Regions from separate parts of the Homo sapiens genome. Here region 2 is linked to region 1. Evidence: promoter capture Hi-C in human tissues and cell types (Jung and others, 2019). All regions are on one chromosome and are shown on one strand. Each heading gives the region's core, a stretch centred on a gene start or on the middle of the fragment in contact. The rest is flanking DNA. Distances are from core to core; before and after follow the strand shown. Region 1 holds the start of MADCAM1 (mucosal vascular addressin cell adhesion molecule 1). Region 2 holds the start of FSTL3 (follistatin like 3).

Region 1 (5,850 bases), core at 227-2,726:
AGGTAAGCCGATTGGCAATGCTTGGAACCCCATGGACTGGCTGCTGCTTTTTATTCCATGGCCAGGGAAACTGAGGCACAGACAGACCCTGAGGTCAGCAGGAATGCTCCATCATTTTATTCCCGCGTGCCTGCGGTGCATGGGGTCCAGGGTCACAGGACCGGCCCCTGGGTGGAGGGGAGCCAGCCATCACGACTGCCACCACAGGCCCTCATTGAGCTAGGAGCAGAGCACCCTGGGAACCACAGCGGAGGAGGGTGGGGGGCGAGGGGGTGAGGGGGTGGGCAGAACCTGGGTAAGGTGAGGAGCAGCCCGGGCAGAGTCCCAGAGGCCCTGGGAGGGTCCCGGTGATGCAGGGGGGTAAACAAGCCACCAGCGGAGACAGAACCAGTGTGCGGGGCTTGGAGGAACAGGTGGGTGGATTCCAGTGCGTTTGGAAGATGAGGTTCCCAGGACTCGCTGATGGCAGCTGTGAGTGGGAGTCCAGCCAGCATCCCTTCCAGATCCCTCTTGTGGACCGAGATCCAGGTCTCAGTGTAGACCAAGGAACAGAGGCAGCCCCTACTCGGGCTCCCAGGCTCCAGCCAGGCCTGCTAGGTGGGCGGCCTCTGCCCGTGTGATGGAAGGAAGCCAGGCTCAGAGATGGGGTGACTTGTCCCACGTCCTGGAGGGTCTCACAGCTCCACCACGGCCAGGAGACTTCAGTCCAGGGGGCCTCCATCCCCAGCGACCTTCACCTGACCCCCAGGGGACCCCAGCCAACAAGACCCGGCCTGCAGCTCCGGAACGGGGGAGGGCTGCTCTCCACCGCCCCTGTGCGGCCGCCCGGGAAAGTGCAGGCGGGCCGGGCGCGGTGGCTCACGCCTGTGATCTCAGCACTTTGGGAGGCCGAGGTGGGCGGATCACCTGAGGTCGGGAGTTCGAGGCCAGCCTGCCCAACATGGAGAAACCCTGTCTCTACTAAAGATACAAAATTAGCCAGGCGTGGTGACGCATGCCTGTAATCCCAGCTACTGGAGTGGCTGAGGCAGGAGAATCGCTTGAGCCCGGGAGACAGAGGTTGCGGTGAGCTGAGATCGCACCATTGCACTCCAGCCTGGGCAACAAGAGCGAAACTCAGAAAAAAAAGAAAAGAAAGTGCAGGGGACCCGCCGTCGGGGTGGGGGCGGCGCTGCCCAGCCTCTGTCCCACTTCCATGCACTTGACCTCGACCCTCCGGCCTCCGTCTGCGATCTTCCCGTGCCTGAATATGAGGCTTGGAACAGACCCAGACCTTCCTGCCTGCCCGTCCTGAGTGGCCCCGGGACCCCGCCCCATCTTTGGCCCCCAGCCCCTGCCTCTCTGCCGCCTCCAGGGTCGGGGGTCAGGCCAGGAAAGCCCCTTGGGAAGCCCCCGGGGAGCAGCTGGAGCGGGGTCGCCGGGCGGCGGGAAGGAGTGGGCGCCTCTATTTAAGCGGCTTCCCCGCGGCCTCGGGACAGAGGGGACTGAGCATGGATTTCGGACTGGCCCTCCTGCTGGCGGGGCTTCTGGGGCTCCTCCTCGGTGAGAAGGGGAGGGGGCGCGGGAGAGAGGAGTGAGTTAGGAGGGGGCTCAGGAGAGAGGAGGGGGCTCAGGAGAGGGGAGGGGGCTCAGGAGAGAGGAGAGGGCCCGGGAGAGAGGAGGGGGCCCAGGAGAGGGGAGGGGGCTCAGTAGAGTGGGGGGGCTCAGGAGAGAGGAGGGACGCAGGAGAGAGGAGGGGCGCAGGAGAGAGGAGGGGGCTCAGGAGAGTGGAGGGGGCTCAGGAGAGAGGAGGGGCGCAGGAGAGAGGAGGGGGCGCGGGAGAGAGGAGGGGGCGCGGAGGGGAGGGGGCGCAGGAGAGAGGAGGGGGCGCAGGAGAGTGGAGGGGGCGCGGGAGAGAGGAGGGGGCGCGGGAGAGGGGAGGGGGCTCGGGGGAGAGGAAGGGGCGCGGTGAGCGGGGAGGGGACGCGGGAGAGAGGAGGGAGTTAGGAGGGGGCTCAGGAGAGGGGAGGGGGCTCAGTAGAGTGGGGGGGCTCAGGAGAGAGGAGGGACGCAGGAGAGAGGAGGGGCGCAGGGGAGAGGAGGGGGCGCAGGAGAGTGGAGGGGGCTCAGGAGAGAGAAGGGGCTCAGGAGAGAGAAGGGGCGCAGGAGAGAGGAGGGGCGCGGAGGGGAGGGGGCGCAGGAGAGAGCAGGGGGCGCAGTAAAGTGAAGAGGACTCAGGAGAGAGGAGGGGGCGCGGGAGAGGGGAGGGGGTTTGGAAGAGAAGGGGGGCTCGGGAGAGGGGAGGGGGCTCGGGAGAGGGGAGGGGGTTCGGAAGAGAAGGGGGGCCCGGGAGAGGGGAGGGGGCCCGGGGGAGAGGAAGGGGCGCGGTGAGCGGGGAGGGGACGCGGGAGAGAGGAGGGAGTTAAGAGGGGGCGCAGGAGAGAGGAGGGGCTCGGAGGGGGCGCGGGAGAGACGAGGGGTGCTCAGAGTTAAGGGGCTCCGAGATAGGGGGTGATTGGTGATCCTGCCAGAGGAGGGGGCTCGGAGGAGGCAGGGGCTGAGAGGGGAAGTTGCGGGGCTCCGCGCGGCCCCCTGACCCGCAGCGAAACTGGCTCCAGGCAGCTGGGGTTCGGGGGACTGGGGCAGAGGCGGCGGTCGGGGCGGGGTTCAGGGACCGAGCCTGGGAGTCCGGGTAGCGGCGGGGCAGGGGTCCGGGGGTGCAGCGGAGGGTCCGGGAACCGGGCAGAGGCGGGGCGGGGTCCGGGGGTGGAGCGGGACGCAGGGCCGGTGGCGGGGCGGGGTCCGGGACTCCGCGGGGCTGAGCGAGAGCCGCGGTCGCCGCAGGCCAGTCCCTCCAGGTGAAGCCCCTGCAGGTGGAGCCCCCGGAGCCGGTGGTGGCCGTGGCCTTGGGCGCCTCGCGCCAGCTCACCTGCCGCCTGGCCTGCGCGGACCGCGGGGCCTCGGTGCAGTGGCGGGGCCTGGACACCAGCCTGGGCGCGGTGCAGTCGGACACGGGCCGCAGCGTCCTCACCGTGCGCAACGCCTCGCTGTCGGCGGCCGGGACCCGCGTGTGCGTGGGCTCCTGCGGGGGCCGCACCTTCCAGCACACCGTGCAGCTCCTTGTGTACGGTGAGGCGTCCCCCCGCGCCCTGCCTCTCTGACCCTTGGACTCCCGGCTCCTTCCCTATGCCACCTCTTCCTGGAAGCCTCCCAGATTGCAGGCAGGGTCCCAGCTCCATGCACAGCTCCCCGAAGCCAGGTCCCCGGCCTTCGCTTCCCTCCAACTCACCCCAACTCTCCCAGGGCCGGCCCTGGCCCATCCTCCTGTCTATTCCAGCCTCCCAGGGTGGGGCCACGGGGCCTGCGCACAGGCCGTCCCTACTGCCTGTTCATCAGCAGCCCCCACGCATCCTTGGCCCCAGCTCCAAGCCCCTCCGGGCTCCGGCCCCTCCATCACGTCCAGCCCTGACTCTGGGCTCAGCCCTCACCCCCGACCCTCCATCACAGCCTTCCCGGACCAGCTGACCGTCTCCCCAGCAGCCCTGGTGCCTGGTGACCCGGAGGTGGCCTGTACGGCCCACAAAGTCACGCCCGTGGACCCCAACGCGCTCTCCTTCTCCCTGCTCGTCGGGGGCCAGGAACTGGAGGGGGCGCAAGCCCTGGGCCCGGAGGTGCAGGAGGAGGAGGAGGAGCCCCAGGGGGACGAGGACGTGCTGTTCAGGGTGACAGAGCGCTGGCGGCTGCCGCCCCTGGGGACCCCTGTCCCGCCCGCCCTCTACTGCCAGGCCACGATGAGGCTGCCTGGCTTGGAGCTCAGCCACCGCCAGGCCATCCCCGGTGAGTCCGCTGGGTGCCCTGGAGACCCACCCGCTCGCCAGCCTTGACAAGCACTTCGGGACGGGGTGGGGGGGTGGGGGGGCAGCACCTGTGCTGTGGGGCGCTGGGAGGACTGGATTCCCCCACGCAGCGACAGCGACATTCATCGACGCAACATGTATTTGCCGAGCACCTGCCCCCCAGCACAGGTCCCACCCCTCCCCTGCCCACAGCGCTCCATGGCTCTTGCCTTGGGGTCAAAGCCCAAGTCCTCCCGGGGGCCCACAGGAACCTGCACGACCTACCCTGTCCCCTTCCTGTCCTCCCTCCACCCTTTCTCCCCCTCCTCATTCTGCTGCAGCCACACGGGCCTCCTCGCCTCCTCGCTGTTCCTCCAACACACCAGGCGTGATCCTGCCCCGGGGCCTTTGCACGGCTGTGCCCTCTGCCGGGAATACCCTTCTTCCGGATCTTTCCACGGCTCTCTCCTCCTCCCCCTCAGGTCTCTGTAGAATGTTGCCTCCTCCGTGAGGCTTCCCTGGATTCCCGTTTAAAGGGTCAACCCCTGATCCCCAACGTGTACAAACATAGGCACACAAGCACACACATGTACAAACACAGACACACACACGCGTGCACACAGGCACACACGCACACGCGTGTACAAACAGGCACACAAGCACACACGGGAACAAACGCACACACCCACACGCGTGTACAAACACAGGCACACAGGCACACGCGTGTACAAACACGCACACGCGTGTGAGCCCCCTTTCCCTTCTGTTTCGTTTCTTGACACCTTGGATAACATCTGACATCCCCCAGTCCCGTACATTCTCTTTTCCATGACCTTCTCCCACTGTGGCTCCCCAGGTGGGAATCTTGTGTCGCGCACGGCTGTGTCCACAGAAGCTAGAACAGGGCCTGGGGCATAGCAGGTGCTCAATAAACCCTTGCTGAATGCTCGGATGAAGACATTTAATGTGGGCCGGTGCCCTGGCGGTGCTCCCTTCACGCTCTGTCCAATCCCGAAGCCCCTGCCGGCTTCTCCCACTAAAGAAAAAGGGATTTGTCCTCCCATGGGGCACCCTGATACCCATGTTAATGGACGTGAGGTCGTGAGTTTCAAGCAAAGGGCTCCCGGGGATAAAGCAGAAGCTGGGAGACCCGGGAGGTCTTTGTGGTGGGGGTGGGGCTGGGGTGGGCAGAGAGGAGGCTGGATTTGAGGGATATTTTACAGAACACGGGCCCTCACGGGCCTCAGTCTCCCCATCAGTCCCACAGGGGATGGAGCAGAAGGCCAGGGCAGAAAGCCCCCAAGCACCTTCTCTCTCCACGCCAGCCTCCTCCCAACTCTCCTCGTCCACAGCCCATCATAATAAACGCGGGACCCACTCGCTCTCAGGGCAGCCCAAAGAGGTGACTCTCACCCCTTTGACAGTTGAGGAAACTGAGGCACGTGGAGATTAAGGAGGCTGCTGGGGTGATGTTGCCAGTGAGTGGGGGACCTGGAATGCCCGGACTCCCATCCTGCCCACTGTGGTGCCTCAGCTTCCTCATCTGTCCAGTGGACTTCCCTGACTGTGGGTCCTTTGTAAATTTCAGGGACCATGTGGATTTCAAAGCACTTTATAAATTATAGGCTTTAGGCCGGGCTCACGCCTGTAATCCCAGCACTTTGGGAGGCTGAGGTGGGTGGATTACCTGAGGTCAGGAGTTCAAGACCAGCCTGGCCAACATAGTGAAACCCCATCTCTATTAAAAATACAAAAATTAGATGTGGCCAGGTGCGGTGGCTCATGCTTGTAATCCCAGCACTTTGGGAAGCTGAGGTGGGTGGATCACGAGATTAGGAGATCGAGACTAGCCTGACCAACATGGTGAAACCCCGTCCCCTACTAAAAATACAAATATTAGCCTGGCGTGGTGGTGAGCGCCTGTAATTCCAGCTACTCAGGAGGCTGAGGCGGGAGAATCGCTTGAACCCGGGAGGCGGAGGTTGCAGTGAGCCGAGATCGCACCATTGCACTCCAGCCTGGGCAACAGAACGAG
Region 2 (5,918 bases), core at 3,323-5,822, 180 kb after region 1:
TGCACGAGCACCCATTGACTGGGTAATTAACAGGAATCTATGCACGCCATGGCCCTACTGTGCGCCTGGCACTGTCCACATCCCACCTGGAACCTCTAACACTGGGGTCTGTGCCCATGTTACAGATAAGAAAACAGGCATAGGCTGGGCACGGTGGTTCACGCCTGTAATCCCAGCAATTTGGGAGGCCAAGGCAGCTGGATCGCCAGAGGTCAGGAGTTCGAGACCAGCCTGGCCAACATGGTGAAACCCATCTCTACTAAAAATACAAAAAATTAGCTGGGTCTGCTGGTGCATGCCTGTAATTCCAGCTACTCAGGAGGCTGAGGCAAGAGAATTGCTTAAACCCGGGAGGCAGAGGTTGCAGTGAGCCGAGATTGCGCCACTGCACTCCAGCCTTGGCAACAAGAGCGAAACTCTGTCTCAAAAAAAAAAAAAAAGAAAGAAAAAGAAAACAGGCCTAGAAGGGTCCCAGGGCCTGGCACACAGTGGGCACCCACGGCTGCTATAACAAATTTGCACAAACTGCCTGGCTTAAAGCAACACACGGGCTGGGCGCAGTGTCTCATGCCTGTAATCCCAGCACTTTGTGAGGCCAAGATGGGCAGATCACCTGAGGTCAGGAGTTTGAGACCAGCCTGACCAACATGGCAAAATCCCGTCACTGCAAAAAAAAAAAAAAAAAGTAGCCGGGTGTGGTGGGAGGCGCCTGTAATCCCACTTAGTCTGGAGGCTGAGGTTGCAGTGAGCCGAGATCGCACCTCTGCACTCCAGCCTGGACAACAGAGTGAGGCCCTGTCTCAAAAAAATAAAAATGGCCAGGCATGGTGGCTCACACCTGTAACCCCAGCACTTTGGGAGGCCAAGGCGGGTGAATCACTGAGGTCAGGAGTTCAAGACCAGCCTGGCCAACATGGCGAAACCGCGTCTCTACTAAGAATACAAAAATTAGCCAGTTGTGGTGGCAGGTGCCTACAATCCCAGCTACTCGTGAGGCTGACGCAGAAGGATTGCTTGAACCCGGGGGCGGAGGTTGCAGTGAGCCGAGATCGCGCCATTGCACTCCAGCCTAAGCAACAGAACGAGACTACGTCTCAAAAAAAAAAAAAAAAAAGTTCCACACGGGTCTGGCTGGGAGAAGATCGAGGTGTTGGCAGAGCTGCATTCCTTCTGGCAGCTCCAGGAGAGAATCTGTTCCGCGCCTTTCCAGGCTCCTAGAGGCCGCCCACATTCCCTGGCTTGAGCCCCCTTCCTCCATCTCCAAATCCCGCAATGGCAGCCAAGTCCTTCTCTTATCCTGTCTCTAACCATAGAGGGCAGGCGTCTCCTTTTTTTTTTTTTTTTTTTTGAGACAGAGTCTCGCTCTGTCACCCAGGCTGCAGTGCAGTGGCACGATCTCGGGTCACTTCAACCTCTGCCTCCCAGGTTCAAGTGATTCTCCTGCCTCAGCCTCCCAAGTAGCTGGGATTACAGGTGCACAATACCAGGCCCACCTAATTTTTTTGTATTTTTAGTAGAGACGGGGTTTTACCATGTTGGCCAGGCTAGTCTCGAACTCCTGACTTCAAGTGATCCTCCTGCCTCGGCCTCCCAAAGTGCTGGGATTACAGGCGCACACCACCAGGCCCACCTAATTTTTTTGTATTTTTAGTAGAGACAGGGTTTTACCATGTTGGCCAGGCTAGTCTCGAACTCCTGACCTCAAGTGATCTGCCTGCCTCGGCCTCCTAATGTGTTGGAGGTTCACAGGTGTGAACCTAATGTGTTGGTGGTTCACAGGTGTGAACCACCGCGCCCGGCCAGGCATCTCCTCTTCTACGGACCCTTCCAGGACAGTGGGCCATCCGTATAACCCAGGATGAACCCCTGTGTGAAAGCCCTCAACTCAGTCCCATCTGCAGAGCCCCTTTGGCCAGGGAGGGTGGGACACCCACGGGTTCTAGGGATGAGGGCCCCATGGTCTCTGGGACCGCCGTTCTGCTGACCACCCCCCACTGCTCTCCCCCTCACTCACAGCACAAGCGTCTGTTTCCAGCGCACACCCCTGCCGCTCCGTCTGACGTTCGAGTCTCAACCTCAACGTCTCTTTCCTCTGGGAAGCCTTCCTCAGTCTCCCCCAGGCCCGGGTCAGGCCTGGGGCACCTTTGCCATCTGGGCATCCTCCGCCACAGAACAACACTGGATTGTCACTGTCTGTTTACCTGTCAGGATGTACCTGGAGGGAGACAGAAGCCTGGGGGGTGAGCAGAGGCCACGAGGAGCCACGGTGGGTGTCTGAGCCAGGGAGAAGTGTTATGGCAGCTGGGGTAGGAAGTGGGCCGCAGGGGCCAGGCTGCGGGCTGGAAGTCCTAGGATGAGCCTCGGGCCTGGATAGGGTGGGGAGAGGGGCAGAGCCGGGAGAGGGGAGGTCATCACTGGGGTCTCAGGAGGAGGCGGCGCTCTGGAAAGGGTCAGTGACCTGTTAGAGGTCACCCTGCACAGAGCCTCTGGGTTAGGGAAGACAGAGCCGGGAGCAGGAGGCCACTGGCAGCTGGCCTCGGTTTCCCCGGAGAGGGCCGGAACCCACGCCAGCCAGACAATGACCCTTTGATTCGCACAGCCCAGGCCGGAGTGGCCAAGCCACGGCGGGGTCAGGTCTTGGCCAAGGTCACACTGTCCAGCCCCCGCACATCCTCAGTGAGAACACAGGGTCCCATCCCTGCCCCACTCCCCAATCCCGGGAGAGTCCCGGGGGAATGCCAGAGGCCAAGGCCAGGTCGAGACGGCGGGGTGTCCCCCGTCAGTGAGAACACAGGGTCCTGTGCCTGCCCCACTCCCCAAGCCGGGGAGATTCCCGGGGGAAATGCCAGAGGCCAAGGCCAGGTCGAGACGGCGGGGTGTCCCCCCTCAGTGAGAACACAGGGTCCCGTCCCTGCCCTGCTCCCCAAGCCGGGGAGATTCCCGGGGGAAATGCCAGAGGCCAAGGCCAGGTCGAGACGGCGGGGTGTCCCCCCTCAGTGAGAATACAGGGTCCCGTCCCTGCCCTGCTCCCCAAGCCGGGGAGATTCCCGGGGGAAATGCCAGAGGCCAAGGCCAGGTCAAGACGGCGGGGTGTCCCCCCTCAGTGCCACTAAGGCAGAACTTGGCCCCTGGCCACTGGCTGCTGGGGGACACAGGCTGGGCAGCTAAGGTGGAGGAAAGGGTACAGGTGTGTCTTCTGTGGGCACAGATCTCACTCAGGCCAGAGAAGGGGCTGTGCCGTGGGGCTGCTGGACACGTCCGTTTCCACCTGCGGGGTGGGCAATGCCGGCACAGCGAGTGGCCAGACACAGGCATGCCCAGCAGACACCCAACCGCTCTCCACCACCTCAACCTTCTGTATTTTCCTGAAAGCATTTACCACTCCTTGAAGTTATAGATTAATTTGTCTCTGCATTTTGTTGTCCAAACCAGGAGCTCGGTGAGGGTGTGATGGGGTCTGCCTTGGTCACCGTGGCACCCCAGCACCCCGCAGGGTCCCTCTGGCCAAAAGAGATGTTCACTGATGCCCTAGAAGCAGGAACAGAGGGGCTCCCCTGCGCTCGCCAAGGGCGCCTGACAAATCTGGAGGCCCCCATGACAGAATCAGCTCCAGAGTAGGAAATGTGTCTGGCTGCACGAAAGCCCCCTCGGGCGCAGCGCCTCCAGGCCCACGCAGATGTCGCTGTCATACATTGTTGGAAACGCCTCTGCTGGAAACAGTGTTTGCTGAATCTTGGAGGGAGAGGAAAAAACCTAGTAAACATTCTTGTTGAGGTGATCTGGGGGAATGTCTGCAAAGGCTTGGAGGGCTGATGGGGCAGAGCTGCCCAGGGGCCCAGGACAAAGGCCAGGCGTGCGCGCGCACACACACACACACACACACACACACACGCAGTGGCCTCCCTGGGGGCCGTGGCTGGGCGAGGCCTGCTGTTGTCCGAGATGCTGGAAGGAGCTGTGTCTCTGGGTCTGTCCCGGCCGCACCCCGTTCTGTCCCACACCCAACCACTCCCCACCCACAGGCCGGCTCCAGCGGCCAGGTGGACGGGTGCGCGGCCCGCGCTGTGAGCAGGGAACCATATCCAGCTGAGGTTTTGGGTGTGTGGGGCGGGTCGGGAACAAGGAGGCCGGGTTGGGGGGCTCAGACCACACTTGGACCATGAAAGTGACCACATGCAAATCACAGAAACGGGATGCAGGGATCCACAGACGTGCTCCTCTTGGGTCCCCGTTACCTCACCGCCACCCCTGAAACTGAAGACCCCCAAACCCACTTTAATTCCTGGAGACGGCCCCTCGATCCACCCAAAAGGCTGCCACCACCTCGAACCCACACCCCTGTCCCGGTTCCGCCCTGGGTCCAGCCACATCTCCCCAAATGCATTCTCTGGCTCCGGAAGGGGACCCGGGCGCTCGCCCCCAACTGCCCCCCGCAGCGGCCGGGCCCGGCGCCTGCCCACCCCGCGCGGGACACGGCCTCGCCCCCGCCACTCCCGCGCCGCGCCCCGCCCCGCGCCCCGCCCCGCCCGCGGCCCGCGGGACCTTTATAGGGAGCGCCGGCCGCGCGCTGGGAAGTCGGTGCCGCTGCCGTCTCTGCGTTCGCCATGCGTCCCGGGGCGCCAGGGCCACTCTGGCCTCTGCCCTGGGGGGCCCTGGCTTGGGCCGTGGGCTTCGTGAGCTCCATGGGCTCGGGGAACCCCGCGCCCGGTGAGTGGGGCGGCCAGAGGGGCGGGCGGGGCGGGCCACCCACGTGGGGCTGCGCGGAATGCGGCCGGGGGGACGTCGGGGGGCGCGGCGGCGGCGGCGGGGGCGAGGGCGGTGTCCGGCGCAAGCTGGAGCCGGGAAGGTCTGAAGGAGGGTCACCAAGAGGTCAGCAGAGCAGAGGTTTCTAATCACAATGACCGCTGACATTTATTGAGCGCTTAGTGTCTACCTCTCCCCTCCCTGAACCTGTGCCATCCCGATAGTGCCGGAGCTCTCTTCATCTCCGTCTTCCAGATGGGGAAACTGAGGCTCAGGGTCACACAGCCTGTAGCAGGCAAAGCCAGGGTTCTAGCCGCGACCGTCCGGGTCGGTCCTGGTGCCGAGAGGTAGTGCTGGGTGTCGGGAGCCAGGCCCTCCAGCTGGGGCTGAGAGCTTTCCCGGGTCCTGGGTAGACGGGGCATGGAGTCTCACACCTGGGACTTGCCGGGAGGTGCCAGGCAGGAGACGGCCCCACTCCTGGCCTCAGTTTCCCCTCCTATGATGGGTGCCAAGGTGCTGCGTTCCACAAGCTGGTCCCTGGCAGTGTCTGTGAACCAGCAAGCGCTCTGGGATGGGGGCTGTGGCCGTTCCTGCCCCCAGGGACGGGGGAAGAAATGGGGGGCTCTCTGGCTCCCCACCCCCCATCCCTGCAGCCCCACCCCACCCCAGCCCTGCGCCAAAGGGAGAGCAGAGCCCCCTCCCCGAAGGCCACGTCCCTGGGGAGACAGTGAGCTCATGCAAGGGGAATGTTCCCAAGTTGGAGTGAGTAAGAGGCGGGCCAGGCGGTGGGGGGGCTGCCAGGCGCGGGGCTCCGCGTGCCCTCGCCCTCGGGTGCTGTCTAGACAGAGGGCAGAGGCGGGAGAAGCGGCTCCAGGGCCTGCTGACCCTGACATGCCCAGTGCCTGGTGTTTGGTGGTGTTTGAGGGGTTGGGCAGGGTGCCAGCCCCTGGCCTGGGGGCTTGGAGGGTACGGGAAGGGACCTCCTGGGGTGGGTGGGGGTTGGTGGTGAGGCTGTGGGGGGGGGCACGTGGAGCTCAGAGGGGAGGAGACATTTCCAGGGTTCTGGAGCCAGGGTGGGGACACCCATGTGGTTTTCTGCCCCTTCTTCCTGGGTGGGGGTAGATCATTCCGTGCGTAACTACTCAGCACCACCTGCATGCATCTGTGGGCGGGCC

The links. The method cuts DNA at HindIII sites, captures the fragments that hold promoters and counts their contacts. A contact is called where the count stands out against the background at its distance.
Region 2: a contact is called between the fragment with the promoter of FSTL3 here and the fragment with the promoter of MADCAM1 in region 1, in 1 of the 25 tissues and cell types used here (lymphoblastoid cells).

The regions. Positions count from the first base shown.
Region 1 is chr19:495,010-500,859 of GRCh38, forward strand. MADCAM1 (mucosal vascular addressin cell adhesion molecule 1) reads left to right here and starts at 1,477. Exons shown (of 5, transcript NM_130760.3): 1 at 1,477-1,542; 2 at 2,824-3,108; 3 at 3,487-3,816. The coding sequence starts at 1,491. It overlaps MADCAM1-AS1 (MADCAM1 antisense RNA 1), which reads right to left. Exons shown (of 3, transcript XR_936221.4): 3 at 4,760-4,851. RefSeq lists a silencer at 795-844. The HindIII fragment of the contact is 26,139 bases long and covers 1-5,850 here.
Region 2 is chr19:671,820-677,737 of GRCh38, forward strand. It overlaps FSTL3 (follistatin like 3), which reads left to right and starts at 4,573. Exons shown (of 5, transcript NM_005860.3): 1 at 4,573-4,707. The coding sequence starts at 4,605. The HindIII fragment of the contact is 14,894 bases long and covers 1-5,918 here.